Regions from separate parts of the Homo sapiens genome. Here region 2 is linked to region 1. The links are contacts of gene promoters, found by promoter capture Hi-C in blood cells and fetal thymus (Javierre and others, 2016). All regions are on one chromosome and are shown on one strand. Each heading gives the region's core, a stretch centred on a gene start or on the middle of the fragment in contact. The rest is flanking DNA. Distances are from core to core; before and after follow the strand shown. Region 1 holds the start of ARIH1 (ariadne RBR E3 ubiquitin protein ligase 1). Region 2 holds the start of MORF4L1 (mortality factor 4 like 1).

Region 1 (5,665 bases), core at 427-2,926:
GGGGTGGTGGCATGCGCCTGTAGTCCCAGCTACTCAGGAGGCTGAGACAGGAGAATCGCTTGAACCTGGGAGGCAGAGGCTGCAGTGAGCTGAGATCACCACTGTACTCCAATCTGGGCAACAGAGCGAGACTCCGTCTCAAGAAAAAAACAAACAACAACAACAACAACAAAAACCTAGACTACCAGTATTGAGGTTAAATGCTTTACTTTGTAAATCCTGAGGTTAAGAAATATAATTATCGGTATTTTAAAACTTACAAAATGGACAAATTGGAAGAGGCTTTTTAACATTATAATGGAATTTTTCACTTTTCAAAATCAATTTCCAAAGGGAACCTATAGGTTGAACAGTAAGATTTATCAACAAATCAGGGGTTTTGATTTTAAAAGGTTTTCAATCTGGCCAATTCTTCAGATTATCTCAAGAGGGAGCCTTCTTATGCCTCTTCTTCCTTCATAACACTTCTCTGGCTCGCATGTCCTGTTTGCAAAGATTTAAGCCCACTCTTAGGCATAAAATGCTCTTAACTGACATGACCCCTGACTAACTTGCCTAATATTTTGCCATGTACCCTCCATGCACTTTAAGCTCCCCAAACTATTACTTACTTGACACCTTCTGCGCTTTTGCTTGTTCTCTGCGGCTAGACCATCTTCCCTACCTTCTCTGTTGAACTCCTAGCCATTCATCAACACTCAGCTCACATAGCACACTTTCAGATGAGATTCAAGCATTATCTCTCTGGCTACATTTGGCCCTTGTAGATATTTCTATTATTGCCTGTATTTTGTTGAAGCATTCATGTCTTTTATGTACTACATAGTACATAATATATCTACATTACAAAGCATTTTTATGATTCATGTTTTGGGGCATCCAGCGGTTAAAATAGGGCAAGGGTTATGTGGTCTTGGCCAGGTCCCTTTTCCTTTCTGAGCTTCAGGTTCCTCAGGTATAAAATGGGTACTATGGCTCCGTGAAGATGAGACAGAATATATGTAAAGCCCTTACACAGTGCTCAATTCATGAAAATCATCGCTGTTTACATTGTTTAGGGCCCTCAAGAGGCGCTCTTGTCAGCGGGGTGGAGGAAATGCCTCTTTAAAATGACGTCATTATAGGAGACTTAAAAACCACTGCACGTCTGTACAAGTGGACAGAATCACACAGCTACCTAAAGTGGGTTCACCTGTCATACAGTTTAGAGGTTCCACTTACAACAGGTTTCCATCAGTAGCCAAAGCAACAGAAATTTTAGCTTAACGGCTGAGGGCTTCCGGGATTACCGCAGGGCGGGCGGGAAGCGCCTTTCCGCTCCGGAGGGAAGGCCGCGTCCCCAAGGGACTGCCTAAGTGGGCTGGATCCCTATGGCCTGCGGCAGACACCACCACGTAGGCGGTCCAGGGGTCCCTCTCTCGGTGACTGGTGACCAGGAGGCCGCAATCTCTTCACATAAAAGGTCTACGGGTTTCCGCTCGGCCCTCACAGCGGCAGCGGATCGAACCAGGAAAGCAATTCCCGCTCGGCTCCCCTCGGGTCCCAGGCCCAGGAAGGCCGGGCCGTGGGGTCTCCCCGGGCTCCACGCAGGGGCGGTGGGGCGGGGCGCAGTGACGCAAAGAGGAGTGACGCGACGACGCAGCGCGACGCGGTGACGCACGCCCCTTTGTTGGCTCAGTAGCGATAGCAGCGGCCGTGGAGGTGGCGTTGGGGACTGTTTTCTCTCGGAGGCCGGAGCGGAGCCGCGTCTGACTGAGGCGGGCAGCAAGCGGCCCCCTCGCTCCCTCCCTCCCTCCTCCGCGCCCTCCCCGCCGCCACCAGCCGTCAAACGCCAACCGCCGCTCCTGGGGAGGAGCCGCGGCTCGCGGGGCCGGAGCCAGGCCTGCGTCCGGACATCAGCCGGAGCCGGAGCGAGAGCCGGGGCCTCGGCGTCCCCGCCCTCTCCCCGCCTCGGCCAGCGTCCGCCGGGCCCCCGCGCGTCGCGCCATGGACTCGGACGAGGGCTACAACTACGAGTTCGACGAGGACGAGGAGTGCAGTGAGGAGGACAGCGGCGCCGAGGAGGAGGAGGACGAAGACGACGACGAGCCGGACGATGATACCCTGGATCTGGGCGAGGTGGAGCTGGTGGAGCCCGGGCTGGGCGTCGGCGGGGAGCGGGACGGACTGCTGTGCGGGGAGACGGGCGGTGGCGGCGGCAGCGCTCTGGGGCCCGGCGGTGGCGGCGGCGGCGGCGGCGGCGGTGGTGGTGGCGGGCCGGGGCATGAGCAGGAGGAGGATTACCGCTACGAGGTGCTCACGGCCGAGCAGATTCTACAACACATGGTGGAATGTATCCGGGAGGTCAACGAGGTCATCCAGGTGAGGGTGGCCGCCGCGCCAGCTGGACCGGGCCCGACGGGGGAGCGGATTCAGGCGGCACGCGCGGTCCCGAGGGACAGGCCTGGGCCTGGTGCGCAGCCTAGCCCGGTGCCTCCCGGCCTTGTCTTCTCCGCTGCCTCTGCTGGGGATAGAGGGTGTCGAAAGCAGAGGTTCGCCGATTAGCCGGGTGTGGGGAGGTGCGCTGGGGGCGGTGCTTCCCAAGTCCTGCTATGGCGGAGGCCTTCGGTCGCCTAAGCCTTCTCTTGCGGGCAATTTCTGCCAGTCCCTGGGCCGGGTGTCCTTTCTCTGGCCGGGCGATCGCCTACTGGGGCGGGGCGGAGGAGGTGGGGTGGAGAAGAGGAGTCAGGAAGAATTGGGCCCTGACGGGACTTACCCCGGCCGTAGCCTCATTTGAGCACTTTTGGAAGGGATTAGAGTAGGCCTAAGAGCAGCTTGGTGTACAGTTGCCCCAAGTGGGCACCAGTTAATAAAGAAATGGATCTTGGCAGTCTCAAGTGCCTACTTAAAGGTGGGGGAAGGGAAGTATTTCTCGGAAGAGGTGCTGATGGGCCTTCTTTTCAGATGGTGAGGCTTCTGCTTACATCTTTTTTATGTCTTTGCTGTTTGGGACCTAATTGCTACTTTTTCTAGTCGTAGCAGATGACTTGCTTGAAGCTGTTGGAATAGTTACTGCATATTGCATACCCTTCCTTGTAGCTAAAACAACAACAAAACGCAGTGTTGTCTAATATTGGACAAGACTCTATTGTGAGTTAGAAAGCAGAGGTTTTCTGCTTGTGAACTCCTTTCTCTGATATTTTCTATTTTGTGGTAAGTTAGGCTTGGTGTAAGTTGATAACCACATCTCATTTAACCATGTGCGTCAGATTTTGCATTTTTGAGCTTTAGAAACTCAAAAGTTTTCATTTGGGGAAAAAAAAAACCTCAGTTCTCCTGAGGAGTCAGGGATATGGCTGAAGAATAAAAATGAAGCTTGATTCAGTGCAATTTTTAGAAAACCTGGAAGGAAACATATATGAGCAGCAAGTTACTATTGCCTCTTTTATCAGTATTATTTCTTTTTTGTTTAACTTAAATTGGTTGGCTAAATATTCATTGACAAATTAGAAGTATGTCACTGTCAACTCGTTGACTTTCTATTATTAACTGATTTTTATAGTATTATAAGTAACAGTTTTAAAAATTGAAGCATCTATTCAGGCACTGTTTCAATACAGTGTTTTGCATAATAGAAAAATCTCTGATATCTAGTGCCATTACTAAATAGTGGAAGTCTTCATTTTTAATCTAGAGAACACAGTCTAAGAAGGAAGTTGAGGATTGTAGAAGATAATTTTTTGTTTGTTTGAGACGGAGTCTTGCTTTGTCGCCCAGGCTGGAGTGCAATGGCGCAATCTCTGCTCACTGCAACCTCCGCCTGCCGGGTTCATGCAATTCTCCTGCCTCGGCCTCCCAAGTAGCTGGTACTACAGGCGCGCTCCACCATGCTCAGCTAATTTTTTGTATTTTTAGTAGAGACGGGTTTCACCATGCTGGCCAGGCTGGTTTCGAACTCCTGACCTTGTGATCCGCCTGCCTCGGCCTCCCAAAGCGCTGGATTACAGGCGTCAGCCACCGTGCCCGGCCTGTAGAAGATGCACATGTAAGAAAAATCTGATTAGGTAAGAAAAAATAAAAAGACAAAACAAGCCTGCCACCCAGAGACGTACAACAAAATGCGAACTGTAGTTATTTTTCTAGACCTTTGGATAGCCATTAATATGGTTCCACGTTAATAACAGTGGAACCATACTGTATGTTCTGTTTGTGTTTTCAGTGGAAAAACATTACAGAAATACTCTGAACAACCTTCTGTCAAGTAAATTTTTCGAGAACTTATATGATTATAGATCTGAACTAATTTATTTAATCAATCTGTTATTTGCCTTCCTTTTTATTTTCTAGTTTCTGGCTTTTATAAATATTGAAAATATCCTCATAGGTCAGTCTTTGAGTGTTCTTATTTTCTTGGGATAAAGTGAATTGCTGAGTCAAAAGAATTTGCTCATTTTCAATGCATTTGATACATACTACCACATTGCTTTCAGAAAAGTTATGCTAGTTTTCCCAACCAGTGTTTGATGGGCAAAAAAAACCTGGTGAGATTGAATTTATGTTTATTGGGCTTGGTATTTCTTTTTTAAATTGCCCCTCGCTTTTTGCTCATTTTATTCTCTTTTGCCCATTGCCCCTCTTTGGGATATTTATCTCTTACTGGTTTGTAAGACTTCTTTCTATTAATAGAGGTTGGAAATAGCAGTTATCTAGGTTTTTAATGTTGGTTTGATAAACACTGAATTTTACTTAGTTTGCATTAGAGAGCTTACTGTTAACTCTTAAACATTTAAATTCCCTGTTCTCAGTTCTAATTTTCAGTGTGAAATCAGGTAAGATACATTTGCAGGTGAAAAAGTTTGAAATGTAAAAAGATAACCAAATTAATTTAATATTTCCTTGGGAATTTGATTACTTTTTCTGGGAGAGGAGTTCTGGGCAACAACATAAATACTGTTATTTGTGGATATTTGCAGGTTAGGTTTGGTCTTCAAATAAGTCAACATTATTTTCTTTCAGAAAACTTGGTTTTCTGGCTTTCTATAATTTCCCAATTAACATTTAAATAAAAGACCAAATTAAACAATTAAACTTTATTTAATTTGGTCTTTTGTTTAAATGCTTTGTGGCTACCTAGCTTACCTTTTCAGCTTTTAAGGAAAAAAAAAATCAGAGTTTTTTATTTTGTTTTGTTTGGAGACAGCCTCACTCTGTCACCCAGGCTGTAGTGCAGTCGCGTGATCTCAGCTTACTGCAACCTCTCCCTCCCAGGTTCAAGAGATTCCCCTTGCCTCAGCTTCCCCCCCTACCCCAGTATCTGGGATTACAGGCACCTGCCACCAGGCCCAGCTAATTCTTGTGTTACAGGGTTTCCCCATGTTCATCATGCTGGTACTGAACTCCTGGCCTCAAGTGATCTGCCCTTCTCGGCCTCCCAAAGTGCTGGGATTACAGGTGTGAGCCACCATGCCTGGCCAGGGTGTTTTTTGTTATTTGTTTATTTTGAGACAGAGTTTCATTCTGCTGCCCAGGTTGGAGTGCAGTGGCGTGATCTCAGCTCACTGCAACCTCCGCCTCTTGGGTTCAAGCAATTCTCCTGCCTGAGCCTCCCGAGTAGCTGGGATTACAGGTGTGCACCACCACACCCAGCTACTTTTTGTATTTTTTAGTAGAGAGGGGGTTTCACCAT
Region 2 (5,871 bases), core at 2,095-4,594, 6.4 Mb after region 1:
TCAGAGACTCCATGATGCCATGTTTGTCAAGAATGTGGAAAAACAAGCCTTTTCTTAAATTGCTAGTTGAAATGTAAAATGATGAAACCTTTCACAAGGCAATTTAAAATGCCCACATTCTTTGACCTAGTAATTCTACTTCTTGGGTCCTGAAAAAATAAAAGCAAAGTGCAGAAGGCAGGCATGGTGGCGTGATCTGTATTCCCAGCTACTCTGGAAGCTGAGGCGTGAGGATTGCTTGAGCCTAGGATTCCAGGCTGGACACTCTAGCCAGGACAACATAGCCTGGCTGTGTTGACACGCTACCCTGGACAACATAGTGAGACCCTGTCTCTTAAAAAAAAAAAAGAAAAGAAAAAGCAATGTGCACAAAGATTAGATAAATCTTGAAATATTTATACTATGGTATGTCGAAAGCTATTGAAAATGTGAGGGACTCATGTTTGTAATCCCACCACTTTGGGAGGCAGAGGTGGAAGGATTACTTGAGGCTACGAGTTGGAAACCAGCCCAGTCAACATAGCGAGAGCACATCTCTGCAAAAATAAAAGTATTAGTTGGGTGTGGTGGCATCCACCTGTAGTCCCAGCTACTGGGGAGGCTGAGGCAGGAGGATCACTTGAACCCAGGAGCTGCAAGCTGCAGTGAGCCATGATCATGCCACTGTGCTCCAGCCTGGGAGACAGAACAAGACGCTGTTTCAAAAAAAAAAAAAAAAAAAAGGTGAGATAGGCCTGTATGTAATTTGAACAATCTCCAAGATATATTATTATGTTAAAAAAGAATACAACTGGGCCGGGCGTGGTGGCTCACGCCTGTAATCCCAGCACTTTGGGAGGTTGAGGCGGGCGGATCACAAGGTCAAGAGATCGAGACCATCCTGGCCAACTTGGTGAAACCCTGTCTCTACTAAAAATACAAAACTTAGCCGGGCATGGTGGCGGGCGTCTGTAATCCCAGCTACTTAGGAGGCTGAGGCAGGAGAATCGCTGGAATCCGGGAGGCGGAGGTTGCAGTGAGCCGAGATCTCACCACTGCACTCCAGCCTGGCGAAAGAGCGAGACTCCGTCTCAAAAAAAAAAAAAAAAAAGAATGCAACTGAACAATATGTACAGACCATTTATGGTTAAAAAAAAAAAATGGAGAAAAATGCACACGCCAAATGGTGGGAAGGTAAATGGGGGGAGCGGGGAATAAACATGTTCCTTAAGTTTTGCCCTGTATTTTATATTTCTCAATTGTTGCATCATGAGCCCAAATATTTGAATATTACCTGTGTAATTAACACATAAAGGCAAATAAGTTAACTTCAATACAAAAGAAGAAATAACACAAAGAGGGTTCTAGGATAAAAAAACTCATGGATTCCCAAACAACTCATAACAGTGGGGGAACTGGGCAGATGAGGGGTGGAGGTGGGAAAGAGACTTTCACTATTTTCTTTTTTTTTTTTTTTTTGAGATGGAGCCTCACTCTGTCGCCCAGGCTGGAGTGCAGTGGCGTAATCTCGGCTTACTGCAAGCTCCGCCTCTTGGGTTCATGCCATGCTCCTGCCTCAGCCTCCTGAGTAGCTGGGACTACAGGCGCCCACCACCACGCCCAGCTAATTTTTTATATTTTTAGTAGAGATGGAGTTTCACCGTGTTAGCCAGGATGGTCTTGATCTCCTGACCTCGTGATCCGCCTGCCTTGGCTTCCCAAAGTGCTGGGATTACAGGCGTGAGCCACCGCGCCCGGCCCACTATTTTCATTTTTGTATTTTTAAACGTTTGGATTAAAAAAGTATGTGCAGGCTGGGCGCAGTGGCTCACGTCTGTAATCCCAGCACTTTGAGAGGCCGAGGCGGGTGGATCACCTGAGGTCAGGAGTTCGAGAACAGCCTGGCCAACATGGTGAAACCCCATCCCTACTAAATATACAAAAATTAGCCGGCCATAGTGGTATGCGCCTGTAAACCCAGCTACTTGGGAGGCTGAGGCAGAAGAATCGCTTCAATCTAGGAGGTGGAGGCTGCAGTGAGCTGAGACTGCACCACTGCACTCTAGCCTGGGTGACAGAGTGAGACTTGGTCTCATAACAACAACAACAACAAAAAATTGGCTGGGCGCAGTGGCTCATGCCTGTAATCCCAGCACTTTGGTAGGCCAAGGCAGGAGGATCATAAGGTCAGGAGATCGAGACCATCCTGGCCAACATGGTGAAACCCCATCTCCACTAAGATACAAAAAAGTAGCTGGGCGTGATGGCACACCGAGTCCCAGCAACTCAGGAGGCTGAGGCAGGGGAATCGCTTGAACCCAAGAGGCAGAGGTTGCAGTGAGCTGAGACTGTGCCACTGCACTCCAGCCTGGCTACGGAGCGAGACTGTCTCAAAAAAATAATTTAAAAAAAGTACGTATTTTATATTCAATAAAAAATTTAAAAGTGTACAGGACAGTTTTGGTGGGGTGGGGTCCAAAGAAGCCCTTGTCCCTTTTTACAATTTAGCAATGGTGTCCAAGGGAGTGAATACAGTCATGGGTTCTTAGTTTCTGTTTCTGGTTGGGCCAGTAAAGCCCCTTCCTCATCCCCCTTTTCCACTTATCACTAGAGACTGAAACTAAAAACCATGGCTTCAGGGTGCTAAAAGCCTAAACAAAACAAAACAAAACAACAACAAAATAAGACAGGTTGGACAAGCTTGCGAGAAGTAGTCGTGACAAGATGGTGTATATTCAACTGGAATAAGGAAGGTTTTTGTGGGTTTCTGTTGTCAGAGAAGGGGTTGTGTTAAAAAGACTGAAGGAGAAATGGAAGTCAGATAAATGGAGAGGGGCCCGGAATTGGTGGGGTGTGGAACCCGGGCAGGGGAGGGCTTAGAAAAGCCATGGAGACAGGCTGGGCGCAGTGGCTCACGCCTGTAATCCCAGCACTCTGGGAGGCCGAGGCCAGCGGGTCACCTAAGGTCGGGAGTTCAAGACCAGCCTGACTAACATGAAGAAACCCCATCTCTACAAAAACACAAAAATTAGCCCGGTGTGGTGTCACATGCCTGTAATCCCAGCTACTCGGGAGGCTGAGGCAGGAGAATCGCTTGAACCTGGGAGGCAGAGGTTGCAGTGAGCTGAGATCGCGCCTTTGCACTACAGCCTGGTTAATAAGAGGGAAACTCCGTCTCAGAAAGAAAAAAAAAAAAAAGAAAAGTCATGGAGACAAAGGTTTGCGTAGGAGGATAAAGGTTTACATAGGGGATGCAGGTAGGCTAAGGGCTGTTTGTGGAAGGATTTAAATACCAGGCTAAGGACTTTGAGATTTATCGTCTAAAGTTCATTGAGCACTTATTCATTGTTGGGTACCGCGCTAAGCCCGTATATGTAATTCTCACAATAAACTGACGGAAATGGTGCTATTTTGCAGCTTAGCCAACAAAGTTGTTTTTGAACAGGGAACGACATAAATCCGTTTGTTTAGGCCAGGCACGGTGGCTCACGCCTGTAATCCCAGAACTTTGGAAGGCCAAACCGGGCGGATCACGAGGTCAGGAGTTCCAGACCAGCCTGGCCAACATGGTGAAACCCAGTATCTACTAAAAATACAAAAATTAGCTGGGCGTGGTGGCACATGCCTGTAATCCCAGCTACTCCGGAGGCTGAGGCAGGAGAATCGATTGAACCTGGGAGGCGAAGGCTGCAGTAAGCAGAGATCGCGCCACTGCACTCCAGTCTGGGCAACGGAGCGACACTCCATCTCAGAAAAAAAAAAAAAGGTATAATATTGAAGAAATCCGTTTGTTTAGAGTGACAAGAAGCACAAACAGGGCAGGTACGGAATACAGACGTTGACATATTCACACTAGCCTTTTTCAGAAAGCAGAGCTCCATTATCTCAAAAAGCTAAAGCGTGACTAGTGTTTCCCACGTCATCATCCTCATTTCCGCAAGGCTGGGCTGGAGAAGAGGAGGTAGACCTAGGAGCCAACAAATGGCTATCAATCCCACCAAATAGGCTCCGCAGTGGGGTTGCTAAACAACGAAGCTTCCAGAAGCGGACCCCAGTTCCCACCCTCTTGCTGATCCTAAAGCCTTTCTATGCAAAAACTAGCGGAATGCTATTGAATGTAGGTTTCCGAGCCAGCCCTATTCTCTCCGACTACTTCAACATCAACGGGGGCTTATTTGCCCAAGGGACGTCGCAACTGGGCCTTTCCCATTCTATTATCACTGGTGGCTCACCACCCCCACTCTCCCCCATCGCCAGCTCCGCCTTAACCTCCCACGAAATCAAATCCCCGCTTTACCAACCCGCAGCAGCCGGGGGCATGGAGAGAGAAGCGGGGGTGGGGTGGGGTAGGGTAGCCGGCCCCTCCCCCACCCGGGGGGGGGGGGGGGGCGCCTCCACCGACTCCGAACTACCAGTCCCGGCGTGCCCTGGGGCGGCGCGGGCGCAGGGGCGCGTGCGCGGCGGGCTGTCGTTGGCTGGAGCAGCGGCTGCGCGGGTCGCGGTGCTGTGAGGTCTGCGGGCGCTGGCAAATCCGGCCCAGGATGTAGAGCTGGCAGTGCCTGACGGCGCGTCTGACGCGGAGTTGGGTGGGGTAGAGAGTAGGGGGCGGTAGTCGGGGGTGGTGGGAGAAGGAGGAGGCGGCGAATCACTTATAAATGGCGCCGAAGCAGGACCCGAAGCCTAAATTCCAGGAGGGTGAGTGTGCGCCTTTGGGAAAAAGGCACCTAACGGCGCAGGAGATAGAGGCGGGCTCGAGGTGATTGAGGCTTGAGGGCCGGGGGCGGCGCGGGCTGCGCCCTGAGAAGGCGGCGGTCAGTGCTTTGTGCGGGGAAAGCGCATTGCGGATGGCAATTCCGGTGCGTCATTGTGAGAAAGCGCTTTGTGAAGCGAGAGTGCTGCGCAGGCGTTAGAGTGGGAGAGAGAGCGTTTGGCGCGTGGCACACCCTCGTCAAGTGTTTGTTATTGTTCTGAGGAAGAGGGCGCGGAGAGAGCAGCCTATTGTAGGGAGGCGACGGGAGCGCCATGGCGGCGGTTAGGGGAAGTGATGTGGCGGCGGGGGGGGAGGGGCGGTGGCTGTTTCGGGCGGTCCTGCGGCGCGCCCGGCCGCTTGGGCAGCTACGACGGGTTTTTCGGTGCTTCCTGGAGCCCCGGGGTGGTTGCGTTCGGTGGCAACTCAGCTGCGGATGGGGGTGGGTTTGGCGCCACGGGGCGGGAGAAGTGCGTTGTAAAATGGCCGTTGCAAGATGGCGGCGCCATCATGGCCGCCGGCGTCTCGGTCCCGTATGGAGGCACAGCTTACGGGCAGATGCAGCGCCCCCTTCCACGACGACCAGAAGGTTGCCGGGGCCCTCCGCATACCACAGAGTGGTGGGTGGGGACAGAAAAAAAAAAGTGAGATGAGCGTTTTCCTCCGCTTTGTGTTGCCTGGAGGCATCACTCTGCTATTCTTGGGCGCAGTGCCGAGATCCTATGGTAATGTGAGTGAGCTCTCGCTTTGCAGTTGCTCGTAAAAAGTAAATAAAAATGATCTGAATGCAGTGTTGACGCCGTTTGCATTTGTAAGTCCCATTGCCTCGACGTCATTTTTTAAATGCAGTAATTGTTTGATTAGTTGCAGTGTTTAACAATGACTTGAAAGTTGAATTTCTTTTTATTAATTGGTTTTCGATTGACATGAGTTTTGGGTAAGGTTAGACTGACTCCCAGTGGAAGGCAGCTCTTTAAATTTTCACAACGCTTCAGTTAACGTATAATAAGGTGGAGGTCTAATAGCTAAAAAGGAAGTAAAGTCCTGTTGAGAAAGGAGGAACACTTTAACATTCCTTTTCATTGCTATGGAAATTTATGCTAGTTACCGTAAATACGATGTCTACATGCGTACGATTTTTGTTC

Evidence for each region. The method cuts DNA at HindIII sites, captures the fragments that hold promoters and counts their contacts. A CHiCAGO score of 5 or more calls a contact.
Region 2: a contact is called between a fragment that was not itself captured here and the fragment with the promoter of ARIH1 in region 1, in 1 of 17 cell types (naive CD8 T cells). The highest score is 5.2, in naive CD8 T cells.

Annotation. Positions count from the first base shown.
Region 1 is chr15:72,472,654-72,478,318 of GRCh38, forward strand. ARIH1 (ariadne RBR E3 ubiquitin protein ligase 1) reads left to right here and starts at 1,677. Exons shown (of 14, transcript NM_005744.5): 1 at 1,677-2,361. The coding sequence starts at 1,987. It overlaps TMEM202-AS1 (TMEM202 antisense RNA 1), which reads right to left and starts at 1,586. Exons shown (of 4, transcript NR_135678.1): 1 at 1,222-1,586. RefSeq lists enhancers at 1,041-1,140, 2,591-2,800 and silencers at 1,381-1,720, 1,572-1,768, 1,811-2,040. The HindIII fragment of the contact is 10,721 bases long and covers 1-3,352 here.
Region 2 is chr15:78,868,384-78,874,254 of GRCh38, forward strand. MORF4L1 (mortality factor 4 like 1) reads left to right here and starts at 4,507. Exons shown (of 12, transcript NM_006791.4): 1 at 4,507-4,674. The coding sequence starts at 4,635. RefSeq lists silencers at 4,279-4,538, 4,949-5,008 and enhancers at 5,094-5,725, 5,119-5,358. The HindIII fragment of the contact is 1,335 bases long and covers 2,678-4,012 here.